Regions from separate parts of the Homo sapiens genome. Here region 1 is linked to region 2. Evidence: promoter capture Hi-C in human tissues and cell types (Jung and others, 2019). All regions are on one chromosome and are shown on one strand. The core of a region is centred on a gene start or on the middle of the fragment in contact, and the rest is flanking DNA. Distances in the headings are between cores, read along the strand shown.

Region 1 (2,922 bases), core at 201-2,700, 520 kb after region 2:
TTCATTTGCCCAACTGTGAATACCTCTCTGAGAAGATCTAAAGGGTGAAAAAATTTTGGCACCATCTTTCATGACACAAATTGAAGGTTAGAGTCAGAGCTTTCCCTAATGGGCTATTGCTTGGGTTGTGCTTAGAACAAGGGAAGAGTCTTGGGGAATCATAACCATACTTTTTCTTTGAAAGTATCCATGGTCTCTCTAAGTAATTCTGAATGTTGGGGAATATGGAGAAAAACACTTTCTGACTCAATTTTTTTTCTACTTTATGTCCTCACATGTTTCTATTTCAAGTTGAAGAAAATAATTTGGTTTAAAAATCATTTCAAAATGATGTTACTTGTGGTGTAGGACAAATAAATCACCAGGGCCTCGACTTCTCAGAGACACTTTGGATGTGGATAGAATTTTGCAGACTTGCACTGTTTTTATCTTACTTAGATTATATGCAGGTACAATTTCATGTCTGTAACTACCACCAGTCAGTATGTTAACTGGACTGGCTCGATGCTAAAACCCAGCACACAGCTGTGAGCAAGGAGGCCACACAGTCCTTGTCTACAAGCTTGCTGCATCAGACTGTTTTATGAACCTTCGACACTTTTAGCACCTGACTGGTTTGCCATTAAAGTCAACAAAATTGCTTCTTAAACAATAATTTTAAGATCTCAGCTTTGCACTCTACATTGCCTTGTTCTTTTAATTTTCCTCACATTCCTTTTCAACATTTCTGTATGTAGTTCTGCTTTCTCTTATACTCTTTGCTCAAATGCTAGTTATCTCTCCCATTCGTGATTAGAACTTATTTCTTGAAGTCATCTTAACCTTTATTTAAACCAGCCTCTAAAAATTCTCAACACTGCTACCAAAGTCATCTTTTCTTTCTGGCTTTTTCGCTCCCTTAAATGTATTTGTGTAGTGTTCTAAAAAAAATTCAGTGGTAATGGCAATAGCAATTTATTCCTTACTATTTTTAAAGAAAGTTGTGCTTTTGGTAATAGCGAAAAATAGAAAACAACTTAAATCTTAGACCATAGGGAACTGGATTAATGGATTATGGTGTATAAACATAATTGAATCTGAAGCAACCACTAAGGATTATTTTAGAGGAGTTGTTAACAATTTGGAAAATGTTCACAATAAATTGAGGTGGAAGACTGTGTTAGAAAATAGTATGTGAGGTATCACCACACTTTTGTAATAAGAAATTTACATGTTTGTGTAGAGAAAAGGACTGCAACTACAGAATCAAAATGTTAATTATGCTTATCTCTGATTGATGGAATTATTGGTGAGTTCATTTTATTCTTTATGAGTTTTGTATGTTCTTCAAATATTCTACAATGAAAGTATTTACTTTTAGAGCCAGAAAAATTATTTTAGAAAATGGGCAAAAACATATCACTTAAGAAGTGGTGTGATATGGTTTGGCTGTGTCCCCGTCCAAATCTCATCTTGAATTGTAGTTCCCGTAATCTCCATGTGTCATGGAAAAGACCCAGTGGGAAGTAATTGAATCATGGGGGTGGTTCCCCCATGCTATTCTCATGATAGTAAGTTCTCACAAGATTTGATGTTTTTATAAGGGGCTTCCCCCTTTGCTTGGTTCTCATTCTCTTTGCTGCCACCATGTGAAGAAGGACGTTTGCTTCTCTTTCTGCAATGGTTGTAAGATTCCTGAGGCCTCCTCATCCCTGCAGGAATGTGAGTCAATTAAATCTCATTTCTTTATAACTTACCCAGTCTTGGGTATTTCTTCATGGTAGTGTGAGAATGGACTAATACATGGTGTTTGCCTTCTATTATTCTAAAACACTTATCTAAACTCAGACCTAAAAACTGGGCAGGTAAAATGGTGTCACACCTCTAAACCAAGGAGCAGATGAGAATTCTATATTATGCATAGCAAATGAGCCAAACATCTGGGATTCTAGGACACTTTCTGCTGTTGACACCAGTAGGTGATCTGATAACATTTAAGTCTACTTATGTTTCAACATTTCTGGAAATAGTCGCATGTACCATGTTTCCTCCACTCTAAATAAGACCTCCTGGCAGCATCTTTCATTAGATGTCATAGTCAAGAACATTAGCTCTTCTGTGTAAATCCTTTGGCTGAGCCCATCTCCTTCAGCTTCTTCAAAGTTTCACCTTAATCCCTTACTTTGTTCAGTATCCTTTATATTGGGTTATCTCATATCAACCTCAGAACTTTCTCACAATGACATATTTTTGAAACATCTTTCCTGTCCTGTAAGAATATGTTAAGACATTCCCATGGCTATGTGACCATTTTCAGCTCCCAGCCAGGCCCAGCTGTGTGCATGTAGGATTACCCTCCACTCAACTTGTAGCCCAGCCTGGCCAGACAAAGAGGAGAGAAAAGGCTGCATGAGGTTATCTGCAGGGAGATGTGCCTGAGGCAACTCCAGATAACTTTTGAGCACTTCCATGAGTGGGGCTTGAGTATGGAGAAGGAGGAAGAGGAGCAGCATGGTTGAGAGAGGTGCAGGCATGGCAGAGAAAGCTGTTTTATTTTTTGTCTTTTTAATAATAGCCATTCTAATTGGGGTAAAATGATACCTTATCGTGGTTTTGATTTGCATTTCCCTGATGATTAGTGATAGTGAGCATTTTTTCATATATCTGCTGTTCATTTTTAGGTCTTCTTTTGAGAATTGTCTATTCATGTCATTTTTCCACATTTTAATGAAATATTTGTTTTGCCTTGTTATTATTGAGTTGTTTGTATATTATTGTATATTCTAGATGTTAGTCCCTTCTCAGATGAATAGTTTGCAGATATTTTCTCCCATTTAACATGTTGTCTCTTCACTCTGTCAACTGTTTCGTTTGATGTTCAGAAGGCTCTTAGTTGCATATAGTTCAATTTATCTATTTTTGTTTTAGTTGTCTGTGCTTTTG
Region 2 (2,798 bases), core at 100-2,599:
TAACATCTGTTAAGGCCTTATATTTTTTTACGTAGCTTAAAATCTGTTGAAGGCTTACTATATGCCAGGCACTGCAAAACGCATTTTATAAGCTTTATTTTATTTAGCCTAACAATAACTGTAGGGGATGCAGACATGCATTAGGTATCTATCCTTACTGATTTTCTTATCAGAAGCAACCCAAATCTCACCTTCCTGGCAGGTAGATCATTATAGGCTCTTAGCTACTATTAATAATTAAATTATTTTCCTATGCAGTAGCTGAATGAATAGCAGAGACAACTATAGTTTACAATCAAGATTTTTGTCTAAACTTTTAAGAGAAAGTCCAGTTTTATTATTTAAAACATTTTGAAAAAAATTATAACATTTATATATCATCTTTTCCTCGATGCATAACACTTTTTACAAAGTTTAGTGGTAGATAAGTGAGGGGTAACTCAAATCAGAGAAACAGGGGTGCAGACGTTTGATTAACTTGTCTCATATCATAACTTTTCAAGATTTCATTATCATTCCACAACACTGCCCTCAAAAAAGAATTTTGTAATTACCATTGAGTGACAAAATACCAAGTAGTGACAGAGGTGTATAGACGAACTCAAAAGTTATTGTAGGAGGACACTGATAAAATGTTGGGGAAAATCACAAAAGACACGAGAAGATAATTTAGAGCTCTATGCCCAAATCACATGACTCCAGTCTCTGGCTCTCTTAGCCAGAACAGCGAATCTTTTACAATTTACCTCTTGTTGCCAATAATTTTCTATTATCTTCAAATAATAATAGGCTGGAGTATGAACCTAGTTTATCAATACTTTTTTAAAAAACCGACATTCCTCTCTTAAGGAGTCCATGCATTCTCCCCATTTTTTAGAAAATTGTTCCATGAAGAGGAATTAAGTTTATTCCTTTGAATTCTAGTCTGCATCCCAGCTTTTAGAACACGGGATGCAGAACCAGTTGATTTGCCACAGGCCAAGTCCTGAGTCTCCAGCGAATCAAGCAATTAACCAGTCACTTGGCCTTTTTGCAGAAATCCACAAAACGTGTAGACTCGCTTAATTCCATCTCCTCCTGGCCTCTTCACACGGAAATTGGCTGCTCGGGCGAATGTTGTTTTTCTCCGCAGCCATGTGTCGAAGGGCGATTAACATTCGCTCGACAAAACCCTGTCCCGGGCCATTTGGGAGTTGCACGCGTTCACACCCGGGGCTCAGCCCGGTGCGCCTTCACGCGCAGCCTTTTTGTTTATGCGGCTAGCAGGGAGAGGGGCGGAGAGGCAGCGAACCTCTCAATGTGCAGCAGGCCGCGAGGGCTATATAAAGCTCGGGTCTCGGACCTACTGGAACTGGTCAAGATTGCCCGCGAGCTGGCAGCGGCCTTCCGCCCAGCTCTGCGGCGTCATGGAGAACGCGGGAGGCGCAGAGGGTACAGAGAGTGGAGCTGCGGCGTGCGCGGCCACCGACGGCCCTACGCGGCGCGCGGGCGCGGACTCCGGGTAGGCTTCCCCGCGCTGCTCTGCGCCTCCCAGCTTCCCCCGTCTCTCCCTCCTGCGCCTCCCCAGCTCCTCCCCTCCAACTCTCCATCCCCCACTGCCCGGTGCCAGCGCTCGGCTTCGGTGGATTCTCCCGGGTCTGGGCTCACGTCTCCTCTGCGCGCCTTGTGCTCCCCTATCCCGCAGATACGCAGGCTTCTGGAGACCCTGGGTGGACGCCGGAGGCAAGAAAGAAGAGGAGACGCCGAACCACGCCGCGGAGGCGGTGAGTGAGCCACGCGTCTCAGGCCGCGCCTCCCACGGGTGCAGAAGATCGACCAGGGCTCTCGGGACGCAGGGCCTGAGAGAGACATGCGAGACACCGGGTCCTGCCTCTCGCTTAACATCCCGCCTGCCGGTGGCCATAAAGGTGCCGACGCGGCGGATGTGTCCTCTGGAGCGATGGGCCACAGGCACCCAGCCGGGAGCGAGGCTGCTGAGAGCCCTGGGGTTACATTCCCAGCGGGCACGAGGAACACTGGGTCGTGCACGTTTCCACTTTCTAGAAGGAGGTGGGTGATAACTGGATTCACTTCCTTTCCTCTCCAGATGCCCGATGGCCCTGGAATGACCGCAGCCTCAGGAAAGCTTTACCAATTCAGGCACCCAGTCAGGTGAGTGACAGGCCTCGCCGAAGGTCTCCCGCTCCTCCAGCCCCAGGGAGGAGCCAGGGGCATCGCGCAGCCCAGCTCCGCAGCTGGTCCTGCAGTCTCTCTCTCTCTCTCTGAAAATCTGGCTTCAAGGTTACTTATCTTCTCACTCATCAAATTGAAAAAGGTAGGGGCTCACGGTCCCACGTAAAGGGACTGTTGATGAATACATACTCAGTGAACTTGATGAATATATTACGAAGAGGGAAAGGGGATGATATGGTAAGAGAGCGGTGACATCTTGTGCTGGCAAAACAGTTTTTATTTTTAAATCCTAAAGGGTTCGAATGAAATTGACTTCGCATCAGGCAGAGTGTGTATGCTGCTTTTGTCTTGCAATCTGGAAGGAAGAATGGGATTAACAGTTACAGTCTTACAAGTTTGCCGAGTAGGAAAAAATAGAAATGTAATGAAAATCCTAAAGATTATTGAGAATGGTTATAGAAAGGGTCAAAAGTTTATTTAACTTGCGGAGCTAGTTTACTGTTCCTAGTCACAGGAAGTCAGCCTTTATCTAAGATTCTGTGTCACTTTTATTCAGGTGAAATGTTAAGAATTCTGCAGTTTTCCTGCCTCCGAGAGCTGTTAAATGAAGAGCTGGATGATGTTTG

What was found. Contacts are between HindIII fragments. The study calls those that stand out against the background at their distance.
Region 1: a contact is called between a fragment that was not itself captured here and the fragment with the promoter of RIPPLY2 in region 2, in 1 of the 25 tissues and cell types used here (lymphoblastoid cells).

What each region holds. Positions count from the first base shown.
Region 1 is chr6:84,372,640-84,375,561 of GRCh38, forward strand. The region is part of intron 1 of LOC107986620 (a long non-coding RNA gene); the gene reads left to right. It overlaps LOC107986619 (a long non-coding RNA gene), which reads left to right. Exons shown (of 3, transcript XR_001744234.1): 3 at 1-215. Among named protein-coding and RNA genes, the nearest start is that of LINC01611, 100 kb to the right of the region's middle. The HindIII fragment of the contact is 4,858 bases long and covers 1-2,922 here.
Region 2 is chr6:83,852,011-83,854,808 of GRCh38, forward strand. It overlaps RIPPLY2 (ripply transcriptional repressor 2), which reads left to right and starts at 1,350. Exons shown (of 4, transcript NM_001009994.3): 1 at 1,350-1,501; 2 at 1,685-1,763; 3 at 2,087-2,151. The coding sequence starts at 1,407. RIPPLY2-CYB5R4 (RIPPLY2-CYB5R4 readthrough) reads left to right here and starts at 1,350. Exons shown (of 18, transcript NR_174604.1): 1 at 1,350-1,501; 2 at 1,685-1,763; 3 at 2,087-2,151. The HindIII fragment of the contact is 6,654 bases long and covers 1-2,798 here.